Regions from separate parts of the Homo sapiens genome. Here region 2 is linked to region 1. Evidence: promoter capture Hi-C in 16 types of primary human blood cells and fetal thymus (Javierre and others, 2016). All regions are on one chromosome and are shown on one strand. Each heading gives the region's core, a stretch centred on a gene start or on the middle of the fragment in contact. The rest is flanking DNA. Distances are from core to core; before and after follow the strand shown. Region 1 holds the start of LRP1-AS (LRP1 antisense RNA). Region 2 overlaps LRP1 (LDL receptor related protein 1).

Region 1 (7,062 bases), core at 774-3,273:
CCTGCCTGGCTTAGGTCCCCAAGAGGCATTTCGACCTAGATCCCAGGGATGATGCCTGGATTCCACTCAGCCCATCTTAGGGTCTTCCCTCTATTGAGAAATCCTTGCCGGGCTCTAAAACACATCTCTCTTGCTTAAGTTACTTCCTTTGGCTTGAAAACAGCAAGGGGAGTGCTGGGAGCAGTCTGGGTGGAGAGGCAATTTCAAGGAGACAGCGGGGGAGGAGAGGACAGGGCTGGATCTGGGCCGGGAGACACAGGGCTGGCCCGGGCCAGGAGAGAGGAGGAGCAAGAGTGAGCTGTTAAATGATTAGGAAACTCAGAACAGGAATGGGAAGCAAAAGTGCCAGGATGCAGGGGGCCTAAGGCCAAAGAGTGGGGTGGCTAGAGCCACCCCTCCCCAAACAGCCTGGCATCCCATGGGTCAGAAAGGCCAAGGATGGGCATGGTTAGCTTTCACATGTGAAGTCTGGAAGTGCTTTGTAGGCAGGGTGGGAGGCTGAGAGGGTCCAGGGGTGCCCAGCACAGTGGGGAGGTAGCACCCCTTCCAGCAGCAGCAGCCAGTTCATTAGACTCAGAGGGACTGCTGTCTGCCCCTTCTTTGCCTCCCCTCTAGACAAATCACTACCCCATTTCCTGTTGTGATTTCGAAAACACACACACTAAAAAAATAAATAAATAAAAGAAAGGGAGAGGAAGGGAAAAGTGAAGTTGGCCAGCTGGACCTGGGACCCATTTCGCAACCTTGCTGCCTGCAGCCTAGGGGCCCTTTGCTGAGCTCCCCAGCCACCTCCTTCTTCCCCATGCAGCATGGTGCAGGGAGGGGAACCCTGAGACCTCTGAGAGCCCCTTCAGACCATCCTTTCACACACAGTCCAAACTCCTGAGTGACTTCAGCAAACCCGATTTCCTTCAAGGCCTCTATTTACAACCTCAGAACCTCCCCTCACCATACACACCCATGTTCCCAGGACCCCAATCTTGCAGTCTGCCTCATTCTTTCTACAGTGGTGGCATCCTCCAAGGTGAAGGGAATACAGATCAGAGGAGCTCAGCTTAGGAAATGCAGGGCTGGGCTGGGGTCGGTAGACTGCACCACCAGGCCTGCCCAGGGGCAGCCTGGCAGGAGGCTGGACAAAGCTGGGTTACAGGCTCCATAGGCCTCTGGAGCTGAGAGACTGGTCAGAGGTGGGGGTGAGAGTGCGCAGGCCTGGTTCCTGACTAAGGGACTATCAGGCCTGTTGATCCCTCTGGGCCTCAATTTTCAGAACTTTAGTCTTTTGTGTATCACTTTCAAAATGTCTACCATGCTTATGTACAGCTTGCGCTACTGTTTATTACCAGTTATTTCAATTAACTTACTTTTCTTATTTCGCTGCATGCTAAACAATTGCTGAAGTAACAGATTTGATGTGCTAGTTACAGGAGTTTCCTAATGCATATCAAATAAAAACGTAACTATAACAGTTAAAAAAAAAAAAAAAAAGCTTGTCCAGGTACCATCTAAAATCAAATCAATGCATAGCCCCTTTGAGAAAGCAGTAGTGAAAGCCAGGGCTGCTCTTGGTACTGGCCAAGGGTCTTGCCTTCTCTTCCGGCTCTCACCATGGAGTTCTCTGGTCTTGGAATTCGAGCCTCATAGACCTCCCCAAACCACTGGGCCAGCGGCAGAGGGGAGGGGGAGGTAATCTCAGGTGGGAGGAAAAGAGATGACCCACCCAATCCAGGGGGATAACACTGGGCCTGAGGCAGGAGGGTCAGCAGCCCTGGGGCATTGAAGAGGAATGTTCACACACTGCAGGGCCTCAGGGGGGCCCTCGGGGGCTCTCAGGACTCCACAACAGGTCTGACTCACATGGCCCAGGACACATGTGAACCAGGCTCATTTCCTGGCCTCCTTCCTTCTTTCTATTCTATTTCTGCTTCCAGAGTTTTCTCTGGGGCAGGCTCCCCCTTCTGCCTGCACCAGCGGGCTGGCCTCGCTGGCTCGAACACCCCTCAATTGTCAGACTCCTCCCTCTGTGTGCACCCCTGCTGCATGAGGCTCAGCCCCAGGGGTCCAACAGAGGTCACAGTCACAGCACAGAATGGAAGGCTTGCAGGGAGGGCTGCCCTGGAGGGCAGAGTGAAAGCAGGGGAAAGCTGCAGCCTTTCTTCTTCGTCCTCCTTGGGGAGCTAATTACAGGCCAGCAGCCACTGTGCAGGTGAGTGCCTGGGACCAGCCACCCTACACACCAGGGCAGGCCAGTCAGCATCTCCTGGGGAGGGGGATGACCCAGAAACTGGGGGAGGGGCTAGGGGAGAGACACTGACGTCCTCAGTTTGGGACCCATAATTAGTTTGTGGGAGAGAGCAAAACAACCATCCTCAGGGTGACAGCCAGACATTCAGGCGGCAGGGACGTGGAGCAGGGGGAGGGCAGGGAGGAAGGGACAGAAGCTGGGATGAGAGAAACCCACTCATTTACCCCACAAGCATTTCCCCTTGGACTCTTCTAGCCTCCTGGACTCTGCCCCTGAGAGGCCCAGTGAGTTTAGCAGACTGGGAGGCAAGGCAAATCTGTTTGCCAAGGGAGGGGTACCAGCTTCTCCTGGGGAGGAAGTCAGATAAGGAGATGAGGCCAGAGTAGAAGTTGAGAAGGTTACCTCCAGGACACCCCATAGCCACCTACCCAGAAGCCCACTGTATGGCAAGATGCAGGGCTGGGGAGGAAACTGACAAGCTGTCTGCCCAGACAGGCCTGTTGAGTAGGTCAGTGGACAAGGAACAGGGGGAGGGCAGCTGCACAAGAGGGTCTAGCACCAATCCCACCCCATCAGCCATGGGGTTCCCTGAGTCGCCCACTCGTTAAGAGCTCAGCCAACCAGGCTTGACAGCCCCCAGCTCAGCACCCCAAGGAGGACACATGTCTGATCACAGGTGAGCTGTGGACAGCAGCAGCCCAAGGACGCTATCAGGGATGCTCTGGAGGAGCCAAAGGCAGAAATGTGAACCTTACGCTGAGGCCACGGAGAGTGAGGGCTCTCAGAGGAACCCCTGCTCGCCACCATCCCGGGGAGGGGCCTTTCTCTCTCCCAGAATGAATCCCTTGTAACCTCCTGGGATCTTTCTTTTCATCACAAGAACCAAATAAAGAAACTTGAAGATCTTCTAGAGAGGCCCAAGGTTCACAATCCTCAACTTCAAAGTGTGCTGTCCTTTACCACTGGCTTTCACTCCAGTTAATCTGATCTAGACAGACAAGCTCAAACCCATTATGCAGATTAGGAAACCAAGGCAGAGATGGGAATTCTGGTTTACTAAACAGTTACAGATCAAGTTAATCTCCCTTAGGGGGTCAGATCAACCACAGGCCAGATTCTTCCTCTCAGCCCTGTGGTGCATTTCTTTGGAAATGTGATGCTGCCAGATGTTGACTTTTAAGGTTGCTGGTGTAACAGCCTCTGAGATGGGCAGGGCTGTTCCCGGCAGTGGGTCTACACCCAGCTATGCTCGTGCCCCTTTCTGTGACACCCCTTCTTCCACAACTAGGATAGCAAAAGTGTAGCCTAGGGAGAAGCCTGAATGGAAGCATCCAGGATATTCTAAAATCTCATGTGGCTCACGCTCCTCTCCCAGCCTCATTCACTGCCACAAAGCCACAGAGAAATAACCTCAGTACTGCCCTCCCCCGATGGCAGCAGAGAGTCCATTGGCAATGGTCCCCGAGGGAAACGATGGCCCATGGAGACAGAGCAGCTGGGCCCCAGCTCCTTTACCCTCAGCTGCAGCCTAACAGGGCACCTCAGGCTTCCGCTCCTTCTTTCCCTAGCCTTGGCTCCCACTGCACCGGAAAGTCCCTCTGCAGTCTAGTCAACACTCCCCTCTCAGAGAAGGGACAGTCCCTGGTCTCTGGAGATTGACCATTCACTGCCCCCTCAGCCCTTGGCCAGAAATGCAGGGGCCATCCAGACACTTGCTCAGAGAGCTGGGAGGGAGCGTGCCGGTGGCTCTGCCCCTGCCTCAAACACACACCATTGTATCCAGCCTCCTGCTTCTCCTGCCCCAGACAGGACCATCCTGTGTAACTCCCGGCCTCTGTTCAAGATAGGGTCCACCTTCCCTGTCTCCCCTACCCTCCCCAGCCCTCCAAGCTGAGAGCAGGTGACTCACGGTGCAGACTGAGGGAGATGTTGATGGTGTGCTCATCCACGAAGCCCTTTAGGCCAGGCATGCGGGCACACTTGAGCTGCGTCTGAGCAGCACTGTCCCCAACATGCACCCAGCATACGGTCTCGTTGGCATAGCTGAAGTCCATGGCTGTGGTCTGCCGCGTGCTCGTAGGTGTGATGGTAGACACCTGGGCCCCACTCAGGTACGTGGCCAAGATGTTCTGGGAGTTGGCTATCAACAGCACAGGGGGCCGGTCTACTGGCTCTGGGAATGGGGAAGAGAAGAGTCCGTGCAGCCAGGGCTCTAGGACCACCTCTCAGGCCACCACCCACCAGGGAACAGCATTGAGGGGGCTTAGTTAGCACTGTGGCCAGAGGCAACCCCACCCACCGTTCTTGGCCTTGCAGGAGCGGTTATCCGGCTGCAGGAGGTATCCTTCAACACAGCCACATATGAAGGAGCCGTCTGTGTTGGTGCATAGCTGGCTGCAGGTGCCGTACACTGAGCACTCATCAAAATCTGCCGAGGAAAGGGCAAGAATGTGGTCATTTCCAGTGTGACAAGGGCAACGAAGTGGGTGATCATCAGACATGATCAACATGTCCATCCTTACAGCTACCTTGAAGGACAGTTCGGCAGAATCTATTACAGCATGAAATGTGCAAACCTTAACACCCAGCAAGTCCAGTCTTGGAATCCACTCTAGAGAAACACTCGTGTACATATCACTCATCCACGCAGGGAAGATTTATTGAGTCCCTACTATGGGTCAGGTGCCAGGGGTGCATCAGTGAACTTTAAAATAGACCCACATTGCTGTCCTCATGAAACTTATATTCAGATAATAAATGAAATATAGTTACTATAATAACATATGAAACAAAGTAAATAAAGTATACATTAGAGGTGCTAGTGCAATGAAAAGAGAACAGGGATAGAGAATGCAGATGGCAGGGATGCAGTTTTAGAGGGGTCGGGGGACGGCTTCACTGAGAAGGTGGCATTTGCACAAAGACCCGAGGGAGGCAAATTTAAAACAGAAAAGTTTGCATTGCTTGTAGCAGTGAAAAATTGGGAACATCTCACTCATCAACAGGGAGGTGACCAAGTAAACTGTGGTAAAAGTCATACGTCATAGTGGTTTCTAAAAGAATGATGTAGATCTTTACATATTAACACAGAAAAAAAAATTGTGGAACATACTGATGAGTGAAAAACATTGAAAATAATATACACAGTATACTATTGTTTATGTAAAAAAGAGCACGCAGTACTCTTGAGCAGTACTTCCAATTAGATTTTCTGTGAATACCCAGAGACAAATGCACAAAAAAGGGCCTGAAAGAGAGAGAGCAAACTGATAATAGAGTTGAACTCCAGGGAGATGGGAAGGGGACCGGAATTGAGGGGGATTTGTCAAAGGGGACTTTGGTTTTATCTGTTAATGCTCTAATTTTTTACAACAGAAAAATTTACATATAAACTATAATTTTAAGGTGAATTTTTAGAAGTCTAGTGGAAGCAAATGGTTAGGGCTCACAGTCATGCCCTGGGGTGGTGGCACCCCCTCTCTTGCACCTTCCTTCTAGTTTCTTATTCCAGCCAGGCCCCCTACCCCTCTCTGCCCCTCCCTGCCCACCTCAACTGGCTACTGGCACACACACATGCACACAGGCACATGCACTCACATACCTTTGCAGGTCTTGCCATCTGCCTGAAGCTGAAAGCTGCTGTTGCAGTAGCAGGTGGGCCCATCGAGTGTGGGGACACAATGGTGCTGGCAGCCCAGGCGAGAGCAGTTGCCTTGGAGCTCTGTGTGGGGGCAGGAGAGACACATATTCAGGCCGCCAGATCTGGCAGCTCCACGCAGGCCACAACCTTCCCCTAAACCCAGTCAACCTTCAGAAACCACTTCTAAGGGCTGCAGTGTCAGAGACAGAAGGGCCTTAGGAAGCATCTACCATATTTCACAAGTGAAGAAACTGAAGCCCAGAGAGGCTATAAGACAAGCCCAAGGTCACACAGCCAGTGATGGCTTAGAACCCACATGTCTCTGTTCTGGATGTTCTGGGCTACCTCTGTCCCCATGGAGAGGGGTTCTGGCACTTTGTTGGGGTCAACAGGAAGAGGGGATGGTGAGTCTTATCCCTTTGATATGCCTCTCATCTACACTGCCTGGGGATTACAATGTTGGCTTCAGCTGGGGCTGAAAAGTGGGCATGGAATCGTGTCTGTCCCCACAGGATCCCAGCTCTGGCCTGGAAGCACCTGTCTAACCCATCCCCGGAGCCCTAGAGGCCTCAGAGAGAAGGCCTAAGGCCCAGGTAGAGGACAGGAAGGAGGAGCAAAACTGGTCCCCTCTGGATTCTTTTCTAATCTTTCTCCTGCCACTGACCCACTTCCACAGGGGAGACAGAAGGGAATGAGACAGGAGGGGGGAGAGGTGGGAGAGCAGTTGCCCCCCCAGACCAGCGACCCAGTTAATGGCCTTGCGTGGGGCCAGGCAGCCTGGCCACAAAGACCCCTTTGTCCAGCGGCCTCACACCCTGGCTTCCCACTCCACCCCCACCTAGGAGAGAGAGCCGCCCAAGATGCTAAGACGTTTAGAGGCACTAAGCCTGCCAGGAAGAGTTGGGATGGGGGGCCAGGCCCCAGCGATTCTTTCTCCTCCCCACTTCCACCCGAGAGCCATTCATGCTGCCTGCCCAGCCTTTCTCCACAGAGGGGGAAAATATCATTTGCTCTGGAAAACCTAGAAAAGAGTAACTTTTCTGGATATAGGGTGAGGGAATGAGGAGGCCGATTTCTGTAATATCAGAGAAGGAAATTCAGACCTGAGGTTTTTGAAGTTCTCTGTTGTTTTAGAGACTGTAAAGGTACTCAAAAGGAAGTAAGCTTGAACACACACCAC
Region 2 (6,562 bases), core at 1,483-3,982, 40 kb before region 1:
CTCAGTTTCCTCCTCTATGAGGTGGGGATGGTAGCACCACCTGCCTCGCAGGATGTGAGAGTGGAAGAAGTTAATCTCCATCTTAAGGACAGATGGCACACACTATGTGAGTATTTCCCAGGAGTTTATTCTTAACTGCTCTCTTCTGTGCAGGGAGGCTGGCTGTCTTCCAGATCATTCAGGAAGCCCTTGTGGAGCTGAGTGTGGCATGTGTCCCAGGTCCTGGGGTATGTGGGTCCTATCCTCAAGCAGCTCTCAAGAGTCCCCTTCTCCGTACTTTGAGGCCTTTGCATGTTTGGGGTTGGAGCCACCGTTCTGCCTCGTAACGGCTCCAACTTTGAATGAGCCTGTCGCCCCTCTGAGCCCTGGTTTCCTCTCAGTAAAGGAGGCAATGGGAACAGCCAGCCCCCAATTATGCCGTGCTCCTTGTGGGGTGGTGCTGAGGCTGGAGGGGGGCTGTGGAAGGCCTCAGGGCTGGTCATGCACTACCCTGGGTGTGACAGAGTGGTCCTTGGACCACCGGCATTGGATGGTGAGCCCTGGGTCCTCGGTCCCAGAGCTTGTCACTCAGCTAGGCCCAGGGCGGGGCAGGGGACTCCACATTCTCTTGCTCCTAGGCGATCCTTAGGCACAGTGGAGTCTGAGACCACCAAGCCACACAAAAGCCAGCTCCGTTCTCCAGTTCCCTAACAGGACCTGCCCCCGCCCCCACCCCAGTGCCTCTGGCCTCCTCCTACCTCTGCCCCTCACCATTCTGGCCACAGATCTGTCCTCTGGCCTGTGAACTTGTCTCCTCAGACCTCTCCAGGTCACACCCTTCTTGCCCACCCCCAGCGTCTCCAGCACCATTGAACTATCCCGCCTTCTGCTGGGCTCACGTAGGAAAATGGTGCTGCTCTGCCCCTCTGGAGACACTGGCTGCCCTGAGCCTCGGCGAGCTCGTGAGAAGCTCTGATCTTAAGGGCCTCATCCTGGAGGAGAGCAGGGGTTTGCGGTGGCTCTGGAATCGGGATGTAAGTTGGGAGGGAGGCGGCGTGTCCTTCTAGCCTCCATAAGGGAAAATGGGTATCCTGGGGCAGTGGCCAGTCATCTTCCTGGCTTGTCAGGATTGGACTTGGCCTGTCAGTCCCCACCAGGAACTCCTACACCTCAGGTGAAACTACTCACACCTGCAGTGAGAAGTGGTTTTCCTCCTGGCGTCAACAAACTCCTCCATGTGACACAACTGTGGTCTGGGTGAACCTGCTTCCCAGGAATGGGGCAGGAGGGAGAGAGAGGCTTTCCTGGGGTAGGTGCTCAGTGTCCAGGAACATGGCGGACCTTCTAACTATCCTACTGTGAGCTCTACAGGGCCATCAGTGCTCCAGTGCTGACGCGGGGAGGGCTCAGGAGGAGGCTGGGTTGTTGGAGTCTCCACTTGCCCCTGCCCTCTCCACTGGGGTCCACACTGGCTCCTTCTGATTCCCCGAAAGTGCCTGCTCCTTGTGGCCAGGGGGAGGGCCCCTCCTGCCAGCTCAGCTCTTTCTCCTGGGCACTGGGACCATGCTCCCACCCAGCCACTCCTGCCATCCTCAGACGCTGGCTAACATGCCGCCTCTTCAAGGACACGTTCCCTGACTTCCAGGTGGGGCCAGTCCTCAGCACACAGCCACGAAGCTCTTCATGACGCCCCTCGCGCTCCCCACTGGGTCCTCTGCACCTTCTTTGCCCTCAAAAGCCACTCGCTGAATGCGTGATGGAATCCCCTGGCCTCATAAGAAAGGAGCTTGGTGGGCAGCCAGGGGGTCACGTCCTCTGGGACGAGGGCCAGGCAGCCTTGCTGGACCCTCCAGGGAAGCTCCAGACTCATGAGGGACAGGCTCTGAGGCCATCCCCAGACAGGTGAGGCAGCCGAGGGTCATGGAAGGGGGGACTGGACCTTCATCATCAGCTGCAGATGTGCCAGATGACAGAGGCAGGAGGAAACAGAGGGTCCTTGAGCCAGGTTGGAGGTGACTGACATTGGGGGACTGGTGGGGGGAATCTGGGTTCGGGACACTCACGTATCTATACAGCTGCTTTGGGTTGTGTTTACTAGTTTCCTAGTAAAGCTTTTGAAAAACATTCCAAGCACTGCTGAATTGGGAAAAAAATGTTGCTAACATGTGGGCCTGGATCCCTAAGGCGAGGGGGTGGCTCACTAGAGGCCCAAACAGCCGGGATGAGGGCTGCCCCTGCGGGAGAACAGAGCAGGCTGACTGCGGGTGAACCCTCCAGGGGGAGCACCCACCCCCGGGTGCTTTCTGCCACCTGTCCTGGCTTGTGCTCCTAACTCCTCCGCACCCTGACCTCACTTCCTGGCTGGGCTCAGGCCTGCCTATGCTCTATGGCATGCAGAGGTCCCCCTCTGTCCTCCCTGCCTTGAATTTGCCTTTCTTCAGGCTTTTGCTCAAAGCACTTCCCCTGTCCGAGCTGGCCTTCCTTGTCTTTTCCAGTTCCAGGCTCTGGGCCAATCTACTGCCTTCATGACACCTGTGGTCACCCGTATACAGCCCTGTGCCAGTTACCATTACTTCCCACAAGTATGACTTCTCAACCCAGCTAGGTGGCTTGGTAGGCCCAGCCTTAGGCTTCTGTACGAAGGGTTCGACAAACATTCTTTGCCTGAAGCTTTGGATCCCAGAGCTAGAGGCCCTACCCTGTGCCTCCAACATGGTGCTCTGATGAATGAATCAATCACAAAGGCAGAGCGTCCCCCACAGTCCTGATGCTCCCTTTGGTGCAGGCAGCTGGAATCTTAGCCAGCTTGTATCACAGAAGAGGAACCTGAAGCTTAGGAAGCTTTTGCACCTCTCCCCAGATCACACAGCAGGGAAGGGTGGAGCTCAAGTGAGGGCCTGCCTCTCCTGCACCCCCGCTTGGATCTGCCTGGGGAGTTTCTGCCACCCCGAGTCCCACCTCTCCCTGCTACCCCCATCCCCAGGCAGCAGCTCACTTCTGGCACTCGTCCAAAACGAAGGCCCGTGGGTGGTCATCTCCAGACATAGTGATGACGGTCTCACGCTCGAAGGCCCCTGGGCGGGTCTGGTCCACTGTGTGGCGCGTGATGGTGGATGTCGTGTAGCTTGTCCAATAGAGAGTGTCCCAGCCACGGTGATAGGCCAGGCCTTCCACGGAGCCCACGTCTGTGAAGAGACAGGAGCAGCGATTTGTCAGGAGGGCCCAGAGGGCAGCCTGCACAGGAGCCGTGGGGGACAGCCTGGGGCAGGTGCTCTCCTGGCTGGAAGGCGAAGTGTGGGGTATGGGAGTGCAAGAGGTGCAGCAGAGAGGGCTCGGGGGCACCAGGGTCTGACTCAGTGCCCCCAACCTCTGCTGTCCTCACTCAAATGACCTGTGGTCACCTCTCAACCCTCTCCCACTGAGGGCAATCGGGCTTTCTGGTGTGTTTGCACTTTCCTGGAGCTGCAGTTCTGCTGAGCTGAGTGCAATGTAGATTTCTGTAAATCAAATCCTGCTTGGGCTGTACTGGGGAGCCCCCTACTTAAAAAGACCCTGAGCTGGATTGATTATTTTATAAAGCAGACATCTTAAACTCAGGTTAAAGAACCAAGGCACAGTGAGAGACACAGCCGAACAGCAGTGTAAGAGAAAAGACTAGAGTGTTAGTGGCTATAAGCGATGGTGGCTGCCAAAGGGCCATGCTGTGGTATGGTCTGCAGACAGCCGGAGGTGAGGGGACATCCCTTCCAGGGGTCTGGGGATTGATGTGCCAGTCTCTCCTGATCAAGCTACGAGCATGGAGTACCGAGTTTAGCTTCGGATGCTACATTTTTAGACAGACATGCAGGCTGGACTATGTGCAGCAGAAAATGTCCCAGAAAAGGCTGAAAGGACAGGTCTGTATACGTAGCACCTAGTTCGGTGCCTGGCAGGTCTTTATGGACCAGCTGAATGAATATATGAGCAAATGAATGAGTCAAGGGACCCGGTGGTAACCAGGCTGAAGAAGAGAAAATGTAGCAGGATGCAGTTTTCAAAGAGCTGAAAGGCTGTCCTGTGATGACAGCCCTGACACTGTAACTGCTCTTTCCAGAGCACACACTCCGTCCCCAGCATCACTGAGCTAAGCCTTCCTGCGCAGCAGCTCGAGGAATCCTGTCTCAGATGAGACACTCATCCACGCAGATGAGAAGGCTCAGGCTTGGCAAGAGCAGGAAACTGACCCAAGTTATTGAAAGCCCAAGTGACTGGAGCTCAGCCCCATGTCTGCAGCCTGGGTTTGTGAGCGTTGGGCTCCACAGAGACCTCTCGCTTGTTCTGTGCAGCTCTGAAGGCAGAACTAGGACCAGTGGCGGGAGGAAGTCGGGGGCTGACGCTGACTCCAAATCAGGAGTCATGTAACTGCGGGGGTGCAGTTGGATTCAGCTGAGTTGTAGCTGCTGGGATTCAGACCTAGGGTAGAGTGCCTGGCTGGGGTCTAAGAGTCTGTGCTGCTCCCCGCCCCATGTCCCACTTCCTGGGAAGACTTAGGGTCTGGGCTCACTTTCCACAATGGTGATCCTCCTGGAGCCATCGTCGTTGATCTGTTGGATGTTCCCAAAGTGGATGTCGCTGAAGAAGATGCGATTGGGGGTGCCCGGAGAGGTGCCTGCCCGGTAGTCAAAGGCCAGGGCGATGACGTTCTTCATGTGCTCAGGGTCCTCGAAGGGCTGCACGGGCGCATTGAGGTTGCGCTCATCCGACAGGTGGATACTCTTGAGAATGGTGCGCTCTGAGTAGAGCAGGTAGCCGGCATACTCGCGGCACGATGCTCCGTCTTCAGCCAGCATCCCGTGGGCACAGGCGCAGGCCCGCTGCCCACGGCCCCGGTACAGGCACAGCTGCTGGCACCCGCCATTGGCCACCGCGCACACGTTGGTGCCTGGGGGAGGGGAGGGTACAGAGGGCAGGGCCTGCCTTGGGAAAGGCTCACTGGTGCCTTTGTCATCCAGGCTTTGGCGAAAGCTCTGCCCTCTGCCTCGGTATTCCCAGCTTGAATGACCCTCCAGGGCCCAGAGTCCAATGCCAAGATCTGTCCCAGAGCACCTCAGCCTTTCCTCCCCATCCCTGGGTCTCTCGGGCCATCGGAAGTTGCCCCATGGGTCTAACTTGTCTCCCAGCCCTCTCACACTGGGTTCCCTGGGGAGCACTCTCCCAGGCCAGAGTCCCCCTCACCTCTCCACCCCAGCCCAGAGCCCCAGCCTCACCTTTCTGCCGGTCCCGGTTGAAGACTTTGATGTCTTTAAGCTGGACGCCGATGCCGGTTCGCAGGGGCACGGAGTCTGTGGCATTGTCTTTGCTCCCGCGCTTGATAGAGCCGTTGGCATGAGTCCTGAGGGAAGGACAGGGCACAAGCAGGGCATCAGTGGAGGCAGGAGGGAAGGAAGAGATCAGCTGAGGAGGCCAGGACAGAAGCCCTCACCTGTCACTCCAGTAGATGAAATCCTCAAACACAGACACTGAAAACATGTCCATGTTGTTGCTGGACAGAACCACCTCGCGGTTCTCACCTGTCTCCAGGTCGATCCGTTCAATCTTGTCTGTCCGTGCATCGCACCAGTACAGCTTCCCATCCTACAGGCCAGAGGCACCCACCTCACCTCCAGGGCTGAGCTCGCTGCCAGCCCCATGTCTGGGGCAGCAGGGAGTGCCTGGGCCAGAGTGAGGCCCTCAGTTCAGCCTCCCCTAACTCACTCCTGCCTCCTGCATACACTCCTGCCCACTGCCCTGCTGATAAGGTGACCTCCAGGCATCTCTCCACTCCCCCACTCCCCACTTCTGAGCGACCCCTGCCCATCATCTCTGTGGTAGCAGGAGTCCTACTCTGGGTGGAGGGCTGGGCTGGGAGACCCTGTGACTTCCCCTGGGCTCCAAGTCCTCCCAGAATGGGCTCATCACAGGGAACAGGAGCCTGGGTCAGGGGTCTACCATCGGATCCAAGGCCAAGTTGGCGTGCGAACCTGGTAGTCCACTGAGATGCCGTTGGGCCAGCTGATGCTGACGTTGACCAGCACCACACGCTCCGTGCCATCTAGCCGAGACCGCTCAATACGCGGATACTGACCCCACTCAGTCCAGAACAAGTACCTGTAGGGTGGGGGTGGAAGTGGGGGTCAGTCCTCAGACCCTGGAGGAGACAGGGCCTCATCAGCATGGGCCATGGGCAGAATGACAAGGCCAGTCTTTCCAGCTCCTCACCCTTTCTCCGGGTGGACGGTGATGGCCCGGGGCTTGTCTAGACCCTGGGAGATCACCACGTAGCGGAAGGAGCCATTGAGCCGGGCGACCTCGATGACATCAAAGCCCTGGTCTGTCCAGTAGATGTTGCCTAAGGAGGGAGTTGGTGGGGCTCAGGGAGGTTAGGTGAGGACAGGTGGACCTGGTGTCTCCAAGCTCCCAGGCACCCCTACAGCTCCTCTTCCTGCTCCCGCCAACTCCTCCTCTCACTTCGTCCCCCAGTCCTCTGCCACACCCCAAGCCCCACAAACCTGCCCACTGCTCACCTGCGATCCAGTCCACTGCAATGCCCTCCACACGGCCAATG

Evidence for each region. The method cuts DNA at HindIII sites, captures the fragments that hold promoters and counts their contacts. A CHiCAGO score of 5 or more calls a contact.
Region 2: a contact is called between a fragment that was not itself captured here and the fragment with the promoter of LRP1-AS in region 1, in 3 of 17 cell types (M1 macrophages, erythroblasts and megakaryocytes). The highest score is 7.2, in M1 macrophages.

What each region holds. Positions count from the first base shown.
Region 1 is chr12:57,142,580-57,149,641 of GRCh38, reverse strand. LRP1-AS (LRP1 antisense RNA) reads left to right here and starts at 2,023. Exons shown (of 2, transcript NR_131938.2): 1 at 2,023-2,203; 2 at 4,559-5,022. It overlaps LRP1 (LDL receptor related protein 1), which reads right to left. Exons shown (of 89, transcript NM_002332.3): 4 at 5,844-5,963; 5 at 4,542-4,670; 6 at 4,152-4,415. RefSeq lists enhancers at 1-623, 2,481-3,409. The HindIII fragment of the contact is 5,560 bases long and covers 1,489-7,048 here.
Region 2 is chr12:57,183,869-57,190,430 of GRCh38, reverse strand. LRP1 (LDL receptor related protein 1) reads right to left here. Exons shown (of 89, transcript NM_002332.3): 36 at 6,522-6,562; 37 at 6,217-6,346; 38 at 5,979-6,105; 39 at 5,441-5,592; 40 at 5,226-5,350; 41 at 4,523-4,900; 42 at 2,975-3,164. Among named protein-coding and RNA genes, the nearest start is that of MIR1228, 7.4 kb to the left of the region's middle. The HindIII fragment of the contact is 162 bases long and covers 2,652-2,813 here.